Linked DNA regions of Homo sapiens: region 1 is linked to region 2. Evidence: promoter capture Hi-C in 16 types of primary human blood cells and fetal thymus (Javierre and others, 2016). All regions are on one chromosome and are shown on one strand. The core of a region is centred on a gene start or on the middle of the fragment in contact, and the rest is flanking DNA. Distances in the headings are between cores, read along the strand shown. Region 1 overlaps ZNF14 (zinc finger protein 14). Region 2 holds the start of ZNF101 (zinc finger protein 101).

Evidence for each region. The method cuts DNA at HindIII sites, captures the fragments that hold promoters and counts their contacts. A CHiCAGO score of 5 or more calls a contact.
Region 1: a fragment that was not itself captured here is called in contact with the fragment with the promoter of ZNF101 in region 2 in 2 of 17 cell types (non-activated CD4 T cells and naive CD8 T cells); the score reaches 6.1 in non-activated CD4 T cells.

What each region holds. Positions count from the first base shown.
Region 1 is chr19:19,710,347-19,715,225 of GRCh38, reverse strand. ZNF14 (zinc finger protein 14) reads left to right here. Exons shown (of 4, transcript NM_021030.3): 2 at 739-865; 3 at 1,075-1,135; 4 at 2,137-4,754. The coding sequence ends at 3,874. Among named protein-coding and RNA genes, the nearest start is that of ZNF14, 20 kb to the left of the region's middle. The HindIII fragment of the contact is 1,249 bases long and covers 2,910-4,158 here.
Region 2 is chr19:19,667,085-19,672,134 of GRCh38, reverse strand. It overlaps ZNF101 (zinc finger protein 101), which reads right to left and starts at 3,296. Exons shown (of 4, transcript NM_033204.4): 1 at 3,169-3,296. The coding sequence starts at 3,171. RefSeq lists enhancers at 2,475-3,040, 3,041-3,607 and a silencer at 2,887-3,086. The HindIII fragment of the contact is 10,038 bases long and covers 1-5,021 here.

The DNA of each region.
Region 1 (4,879 bases), core at 2,285-4,784, 43 kb before region 2:
ATTAAAACCTTATCCAGATTGATTCCATGCGTAATGAAATGCTGAGTGATATGGTACGTAATAAGGTAGGAAATGAGTTTTTCTCACAAGGGATTAATGGTCTTAAAATTTGTTTCATTTGTATAGCATTTCTCTTACTTTTCCAGTGTGAGCTTGAGTCCACCTTTAGAGAACAATAAGGTTTCACATGATCACAGTAAAAATTTAGAAGTAATTGACCAGGCACAGTGGCTCACGCCTGTAATCCTAGCACTTTGGGAGGCCGAGGCGGGCAAATTGCCTGAGCTCAGGAGTTCGAGACCAGCCTGGCCAACATGGTGAAACCCCGTCTCTACTAAAAATACAAAAAATTAGATAGGTATGGTACACACCTGTAGTCCCAGCTACTTAGGAGGCTGGGGCACGAGAATCATTTGAGCTCCAGAGGCAGAGGTTGCAGTGAGCCAAGATCGCACCACTGAACTCCAGCCTGGGCAATAAAGCAAGACTCTGTCTCAAAAAAAAAAAAAAAAGAAAAAGAAAAAGGAAAAAGAAAAAAATAGAAGTAATTTCTGTGTGTTCATGACAGCATGAATTTTATGAGGAAGTCAGTGTGGACAGTCGTAGTTCTGACAGCTGAGTCATACACCAAATGTTTGGAGAACACAGAATTGTATGGGAACTTCTTACAAATCAAGTATAGATCCCCAGTACTGCCAGTCTTACCCATCCTCTGTAAACATATGTGGAATGTTTCAGGACTCAGTCTCCTTTGAGGATGTGGCCGTGAACTTCACCCTGGAGGAGTGGGCTTTGCTGGATTCTTCACAGAAAAAGCTCTATGAAGATGTGATGCAGGAGACCTTCAAAAACCTGGTTTGTCTAGGTAAGGATATCAACATTTCTTTCCTCAGTTAAATATAGAACACAGAACAAGTGTTTCTTGCTCAACAGCTGTGTTCCAAGATTTGAAATGTGGAAAGGGAATCTTTCAGTGATTGAATCAGACAGTCACAGCTAATCATGAAACTAGACTGTAACAATTTTCTATAATTTCTAATAATTTTTAATGGTCTTTCTGGGTATGCATTTTAGGAAAAAAGTGGGAAGACCAGGACATTGAAGATGACCACAGAAACCAGGGGAAAAATCGAAGGTGAGTTGCATCCACAGAAAAATAGTGGCCCGTGGGGGAATTTCAAAAGAAAGCAAGCAAAACAATTAAGCACAGCTTCAAATTTATTTATTCCTAGAAAACTTTCACTGAAAATGTTTTCTTAAAAACATCATAGATGTTCAGGATGTGAAAAATAAATCACTTCGAAATAGCATTTAGAAACCCCTTTTATAAATATTATTATTTTGGCCAGGCACAATAGTTCATGTAGGTAATCCCAGCAGTTTGGGAGGCTGAGGTAGGAGGATCACTTGAGGCCTGGAATTCAAGACCAGCCTGGGTAATATAGCAAGACCTCATCTGGGGAAAAAAAAAAAAAAAGGCCTGGCACAGTGGCTCATGCCTGTAATCCTAGCACTTTGGGAGGCCAAGGCAGGCAGATCATCTGAGGTCAGGAGTTCAAGACCAGCCTGGCCAACATGGCAAAACCCCATCTCTACTAAAAATACAAAAATTAGCCAGCTGTGGTGGTGTGCTCCTATAATCCCAGCTACCCAGGAGGCTGAGGCAGGAAAATTGCTGGAACCCAGGAGGCAGAAGCTGCAGTGAGCCTAGATCGTGCCACTGTACTCCAGCCTGGGCAACAGAGCAAGACTCCATCTTGGAAAAAAAAAAAAAATTAGCCAGGCATGGTGGCACTCTCTAGTCCCACCTGCTCAGGAGGCTGAGATGGGAGGATTGGTTGAGCCCAGGAATTCAAGGCTTCAGTGAGCTGTGATCATGCCACTGTACTCCAGCCTGGGTGAGAGAATGAGACTCCATCTCTTATTTAAACAACAACAACAAAAAAATTGACTGTTTTGATCATAACTATGGTTGAGTCTTCTTCCAGAGCATTGAATATATTAACTTTAAAACAATTCAGACAGGGCAGATATCCTATACTTTTTCTGAAAATGGTTAAAATGTAATTCTCATACCTACTAATAAATACAAAATAATTAAAAAGCCACTAATAATGTGCTATTCATTTTTTACAGATGTCATATGGTTGAGAGACTCTGTGAAAGTAGAAGAGGTAGCAAATGTGGAGAAACCACTAGCCAGATGCCAAATGTTAATATCAACAAGGAAACTTTTACTGGAGCAAAACCACATGAATGCAGCTTTTGTGGAAGAGACTTCATTCATCATTCGTCCCTTAATAGGCACATGAGATCTCACACTGGACAGAAACCAAATGAGTATCAGGAATATGAAAAGCAACCATGTAAATGTAAAGCAGTTGGGAAAACCTTCAGTTATCACCACTGCTTTCGCAAACATGAAAGAACTCACACTGGAGTGAAGCCCTATGAATGTAAACAGTGTGGGAAAGCCTTTATATATTACCAGCCATTTCAAAGACATGAAAGGACTCATGCTGGACAGAAACCCTATGAATGTAAGCAATGTGGAAAAACCTTTATATATTACCAGTCTTTTCAAAAACATGCTCATACTGGAAAGAAACCCTATGAATGTAAACAGTGTGGGAAAGCCTTTATATGTTACCAATCTTTTCAAAGACACAAAAGGACTCACACTGGAGAGAAACCCTATGAATGTAAGCAATGTGGTAAGGCTTTCAGTTGTCCCACATACTTTCGAACTCATGAAAGAACTCACACTGGAGAAAAACCCTACAAATGTAAAGAATGTGGTAAAGCCTTCAGTTTTCTCAGTTCTTTTCGAAGGCATAAAAGGACTCATAGTGGAGAGAAACCCTATGAATGTAAAGAATGTGGAAAAGCCTTCTTTTATTCTGCAAGCTTTCGAGCACATGTAATAATACACACTGGGGCTCGACCTTATAAATGTAAAGAATGTGGGAAAGCCTTCAACTCTTCTAATTCCTGTCGAGTGCATGAAAGAACTCATATTGGAGAAAAACCATATGAATGTAAACGATGTGGCAAATCATTCAGTTGGTCCATTTCTCTTCGATTGCATGAAAGAACTCATACTGGAGAGAAACCTTATGAGTGTAAACAGTGTCATAAAACCTTCAGTTTTTCAAGTTCCCTTCGAGAACACGAAACAACTCACACTGGAGAGAAACCCTATGAATGTAAACAATGTGGTAAAACCTTCAGTTTTTCAAGTTCCCTTCAAAGACATGAAAGGACTCACAATGCAGAGAAACCCTATGAATGTAAACAGTGTGGGAAAGCCTTCAGGTGTTCAAGTTATTTTCGAATTCATGAAAGGTCACACACTGGAGAGAAACCCTATGAATGTAAACAGTGTGGAAAAGTTTTCATTCGTTCCAGTTCCTTTCGACTGCATGAAAGAACACACACTGGAGAGAAACCCTATGAATGTAAACTATGCGGTAAAACCTTCAGTTTTTCAAGTTCCCTTCGAGAACATGAAAAAATTCACACTGGAAATAAGCCTTTTGAGTGTAAGCAATGTGGTAAGGCCTTCCTTCGTTCCAGTCAAATTCGATTGCATGAAAGGACTCACACTGGAGAGAAACCGTATCAATGTAAACAATGTGGAAAAGCCTTCATTTCTTCCAGTAAATTTCGAATGCATGAGAGAACTCACACGGGAGAGAAACCCTATCGATGTAAACAATGTGGGAAAGCCTTCAGATTTTCAAGTTCTGTTCGAATTCATGAAAGGTCTCACACTGGAGAGAAACCTTATGAATGCAAACAATGTGGAAAAGCCTTCATTTCTTCCAGTCACTTTCGACTGCATGAAAGGACTCATATGGGAGAGAAAGTCTAAGAATATAAGCAACATTCTGAAGCCTTCGGTTGTTCCAGCTCCTTCTGAATACACAAAAGAGTTCATACTGGACAGAAGCTGTGTGAATACAAACATTGTTCTAAAGCCCTTAATTGTTCCAGTTTCTTTTGAGCACGAAAGAATTCCCACTGGTGAGAAACAGTATGAATGTAAACATTGTGATTAAGCCTTCAGTTGACCTAATTCATTTCAAAGACAGGACTCGTGCTGCAGTGAAATCTGTTTTGTTTTTTGTTTTTTGTTTTTTTAAAAAAGGCCAAGCTTGTTGGCTCATGCCTATAGTCCCAGCACTTTGGGAGGCCAAGGTGCAAGGCAGGCAGATCATTTGAGGTCAGAAATTCGAGACCAGCGTGGTCAACATGGTGTAACCCCATCTCTACTAAAAATTACCAAAAAATGAACCAGGCATGGTAGTGCATGCCTCTAATCCCAGCTACTCAGGAGGCTAAGGCAGGAGAATCACTTGAACCTGGAGACAGAGGTTGCAGTGAGCTGAGATCACGCCACTGCATTCCAGCCTGTGCGACAGAATGAGACACTGTCTCAAGAAAAAATAAAAGTGGGAAAATCTTCCAACTGTCCTCTAGAGTGTGAATATATGAAAGGAGTCAGAGTGGGGTGAAAGTCTATAAATGTAAGACATTTGGGAAAGCCTTCACACAGCCTTTTGAGCACACATGAGAATGTATACTGGAGAGAAACCCTATAAATATTAAGAATGTGGGAAATTCTTCATCCTAGTTCTTTTGTTGTTGTTGATGATACAAAAATATTTTCATTTAATAAAGATTGTCAGGTTATATTTAATAAGAAAGAAAGTATCATGTAAACAGCCCAGTAATAAAATTTTACAATCTTATAAATTATAACATTTTTCTTTAAAACTGGAACATATTCTCATTATGCTTTCCAAAGGACATATTGATTTAGATGTGACTCATTCTTCAGTGGATTCTACAGAAGAAACCATATGAGAGCTAATTT
Region 2 (5,050 bases), core at 2,047-4,546:
AATCATACAACTTATAAATATATATATAATCATACATATAATTTATATATATATATATATACACACACACATTTTTTAAGATGGGGGTCTCACTATATTGCCCAGGCTGGACTTGAACTCCTGGGCTAAATCGATTCTCCCGCCTCAGCCTCTCAAGTACCTAGAATTACAGGTGTTTGCCAGTGTTCCTGCCCTCAGTTCATCTTGAATTGCTGTTACAAGCCGTTGAAGTCAATTTTTAGAAAAGAACAAAGCCTACTGAAATTTTTCTTGAAGTCTGAAAATGTCTCGTGAATAAAATGATTATGATGTAAAAAGCATACGTTGAAAAATATCTGCCGGGCACGGGGGCTCACGCCTGTAATCCCAGCACTTTGGGAGGCCGAGGCGGGCGGATCACGAGGTCAGGAGATCGAGACCATCCTGGCTAACACGGTGAAACCCCGTCTCTACTAAAAATACAAAAAATTAGCCGGGCGTAATGGCGGGCACCTGTAGTCCCAGCTACTCGGGAGGCAGAGGCAGGAGAATGGCGTGAACCCGGGAGGCGGAGCTTGCAGTGAGCCGAGATCGCGCCACTGCACTCCAGCCTGGGCGACAGAGCAAGACTCTGTCTCAAAAAAAAAAAAAAAATCCTAACACCTAAGGTGATGGTATTAATATTACGGGCAGCAACTCTGGGAAATAACTGGGATTACATGAGATCATGAGAGAGACCTAGGAGTACAGATTAGTATCCTTAGGAAAAGAGATGAGTATCTATCACTTTCAGATGTCATTCAGTATTTTTTCCATAATAAACTATTCAGTAAACAAAAGATCATATCTGACTACTTCTAGATGTTGCCAAACTTATCCCAAAGGATTCAGCGTTAATCTGTCAAATCCAGATAACACAAAACAGAACAGAGTTATCCACCATCACAAATTCCCCAACCTGCAAAGGAGAGGAGCTGATGTGCTGGTGAATCTTTGTAAATCACTAATTTCTGCTTATCTACCATGCCTTTTTTTATTATGTATTTTTTGAGATGGAGTCTCGCTCTGTCGCGCAGGCTGGAGTGCAGTGGCGCGATCTCCAGCTCACTGCAAGCTCCGCCTCCCGGATTCACGCCATTCTCCTGCCTCAGCCTCCAGAATATCTGGGACTACAGGCGCTCGCCACCACGCCTGGCTAATTTTTTTGTATTTTTAGTAGAGACGGGGTTTCCCCGTGTTAGCCAGGATGGTCTCGATCTCCTGACCTCGTGATCTGCCTGCCTCTGCCTCCCAAAGTGTTGGGATTACAGGCGTGAGCCATCGCGCCCGACCTACCATGCCTTTTTTTTGTGGGAATGTATTCATATTCTGCAGCCATAATGGAAGATTTCCTTTTTTTTTTTTAAAGACAGGGTCTCACTCTGTCGTTCAGTGCAGTGGCGCAATCACAGCTAACGGCAGTCTCAACCTCCCCGGGTTCAGGTGGCTCTCCCACCTCAGTCTCCTGAGTAGCTGAGACTACAGGCATGCGCCACCATACCCGGCTAATTTTTGTATTTGTTGTAGAAATGGGGTCTCGCCACTTTGCCCAGGATGGTCTCAAACTTCTGGGCTCAAGAGATCTTCCCGCCCCAGCCTCCCAAAGTGCTGGAATTACAGGCGTGAGCCACCTGGGCAGGAGAATCGCTTTTGACTTCCAGAGCAGACTGGGCAACATAGTGAGACCTTGTCTCTACAAAAAATAAAAACTAGCCGGGCGTGGCGCATGCCTGTGGTCCCAGCTTCTTGGAAGACTGAGGCAGGAGGATTGCTTGGGCCCCAGAGGTTGAGGCCGTAGTAAGCCATGACTGTGCCACTGCATGCCACCCTGAGCTGCCTCAGAAGGGAGAAGTTTCTTTCTACTGTTTCTGGCCCCACCCCACCCCCAAGGGCCAGCAGGGAATCCCTCTGGAATTTCCTAAGGAAACTTCTTTTCAAAAGACAAGAACTCCTCCCTAGGAGGCTCATCAAACAACCAGGAAAGATTAACCACGCCAGGACAGACTTTTCACCCGTTCTTCCGAGGGCAGCTGGAAGAAGTCCCTGGACGGTCCTGAAACCCAGGACCAGAAAGATAGGAGGGTGGGCTGAGGACCCAATACCCTGTGAAGTTCCCAAGAGAAGCCTCCACCCAAAGACTGTCTGATAAGGTGGCCGCGCCTAGGGAAGGTAAAAAGAGGGCAGGCACAGTGATTTTTTTTTTTTAACATCGGAGTGTCAGGGGGTTATTTTCTGCTTTGCTCGCATGTGAAATGTTCACAAACGGAAAATGAACTTTTTAAGAAGTGCCATCTAGGGCTCCTTGGAAAAGATGACAGTTAAAACACTGGGTCTTGCCAGGCGCAGTGGCTCAAGCCTGTAATCCCAGCACTTTGGGAGACCGAGGCAGGCAGATACCTGAGATCAGGACTTCAGCACGGCCAACATGGTGAACCTGTCTCTACTGAAAATACAAGTTAGCCGGACGTGGTGGCGGGCACCTGTAATTCCAGCTACTCAGGAGGCTGAGGCAGGAGAATCACTTGAACCCGGAAGACGGAGGCTGCAGTGAGCCCAGACAGTGCCACTGCACTCCAGCCTGGGCGACAGAGTGAGACTCCGTCTCAAAAATAATAGAAATAATGATAATAATAATAATGTGAAGTGGATGTACTGGAGGGAGAACTTAGGGTTGGGGAATGCGGGGAAATTTAGGGATTTACTGCAGCCCTGGGAGGAGCGAAGCTGGGGGACGGGGTCGTGGGTTTGAAACCCAGCTTCCCACACCTTTGGAAGACTCCGAAGGAAACGGGGACCGCCTAAGGGAGGAGGAACTGGGGACCCCACAGGCCACGGCTCCTCCCGCACGAACCCCACACCCGAGGCGGGATTCCCCCTAAGACCCTCCTGAGGCCCCCGCACGATCTGGGGAGACGCGGGGCTGCGGGCGCGGAGCTGCCCTGAGAGGGCTCCGGGGCCGGGACAGGACACCCGGGGTCCCGGCGGCTGGTCCAGCTCCACCCGGCGACCGAGGGGACCAAGGGTCGAGCTGCGCCTGGGGGACTCGGGTCCCAGACCCCCACAGTCGCCGCGGGGAGGCCCAGGTCCAGCCACTGCCGGTTCCGACCAGCTCCTCCTCAGGTCTCCGGACGCCCGGCTCCGCACGCTCACCATTTCCGGCTTCCGGGTGTCCTGGGTCCTTCCTGGGGCTGGAGCAGCCAGAACAGGTCCCACACGACAAAATCAGCCGTATCCGGGGCACCAGGGGCTCCCCGAGGAACTAAAACCCGGACCCGAATGGGGGGCCGGCGGGAAATGAGACCGCTTCGGGCTTTGGAAGTTGCCCCTCCTCCCGGCGCACCTGATTGGACAGTTTGCCGCACAGCGCCTCTGACTGGCTGGTGCCCCAGGTCCCGCCCCTGGGGCTTGAGCGACAGGAGAGGTGATCGGAATCCTCAAATAATCCGCTCGCTGTGTGGGGTGTGACTGACAGGTGCTACCCACAGCCCCTCGCTGGGACCTTGGACCTGGACTTGCATGGAAGCAGAACTTGCTCCCGTTAGGGTCAACCCAACCAGACTGTTCCCCTCCTTCCCCCATCAGTCTTACAATACAGTCCTTTGTGACCGCCACACAACTCCCCCCGGGCTAGAAGTAGACCTCCTCCCCACTGACCCTTCCAGTAACTGTTTGTTCAAAAGACTTCAGCTGAACCGGCAGACAGTTCCAGGATGCGGTCACAACACCTGCCCACCTTGCATAACAAAGCTGGCAAAAACATCTCCAGGATGCGGTCAGGACACCTGCACCCCCGACTCAGTTCTCACACCCCAGCCCAGTTCCTCGCCCTATAAAGCCCTGCTGTAGTCTGTAAGCGGGGCTGCCTCCTCTAACTGTGGGGGAGCAGCCCAGCAGGTTAATAAAACTTACTTGACTGACTTCAGGTCTCTTCGTCCTTTCGGCTGACCTTACAGCTCCTGGTTTTCCGGAGCAGGCCCTGTCGGCTTCCTGTACTCAGTGGGTCCTTCCTGCTGCTTTTTTTTTTTTTTTTTGAGACGGAGTTTCGCTCTTGTTGCCCAGGCTGGAATGCAATGGCACGATCTCAGCTAACTGCAACCTCCGCTTTCCGGTTTCAAGCGATTCTCCTGCCTCAGCCTCCCGGGTAGCTGCGATTACAGGCGCCCACCACCACTCCCGGCTAATTTTTGTATTTTTAGTAGAAATGGGGTTTCACCATGTTGGCCAGGCTGGTCTCGAACTCCTGATCTCGTGATCCGCCGGCCTCGGCCTCTCAAAGTGCTGGGATTACAGGCGTGAGCCACCGCGCCCAGCCGCCTCCTGCTTCTTTTTCCGGAACACCGGTCACATGAGTGTGCACGGAATTCCAGACTCCGTGTTCAGTGAAGCCATCCCTCCACCTTGGAGCTGGAGAGACTCCCAGGTCACAATGGAACAGGTAGGAGGCCCTGATGTCCTCCAGAGATCAGGAATTTATGAGGCTATTGGTCCCATGGCCAAGGCTTCCTACACGTTACTTCTTCTCAGGCTACTCCTTTTCAGCCAAGAAAATAAAAACATGCCTTAAAGGGAACAAAATTATTAAATGCAGGGAAAAACTGGAGTAAACCACTTTTTTTTTCTTTTTTTTTGAGACGGAGTCTGGCTCTGTCGCCCAGGCTGGAGTGCAGTGGCACGATCTCAGCTCATTGCAACCTCTGCCTCCCAGGTTCAAGAGATTCTCTTGCCTCAGCCTCCCGAGTCCGAGTAGCTGGAACTACAGGCATGTGCCACCATGCCCGGCCAATTTTTTTTTTTTTTTTTTTTTTTTGTATTTTTAGTAGAGACGGGGTTTCACCGTGTTAGCCAGGATGGTCTCGATCTCCTGAACTCGTGATCTGCCCGCCTTGGCCTCCCAAAGTGCTGGGATTACAGGCATGAGCCACCGTGCCCGGCCTGGAGTAAACATTCTATAAAGGTATTGCTACCAGAAAGGGGTCCAGTCCCAGACTCCAAGAGCAGAAGCTTGGACCTTGTATGGGAAAGAATTAATATT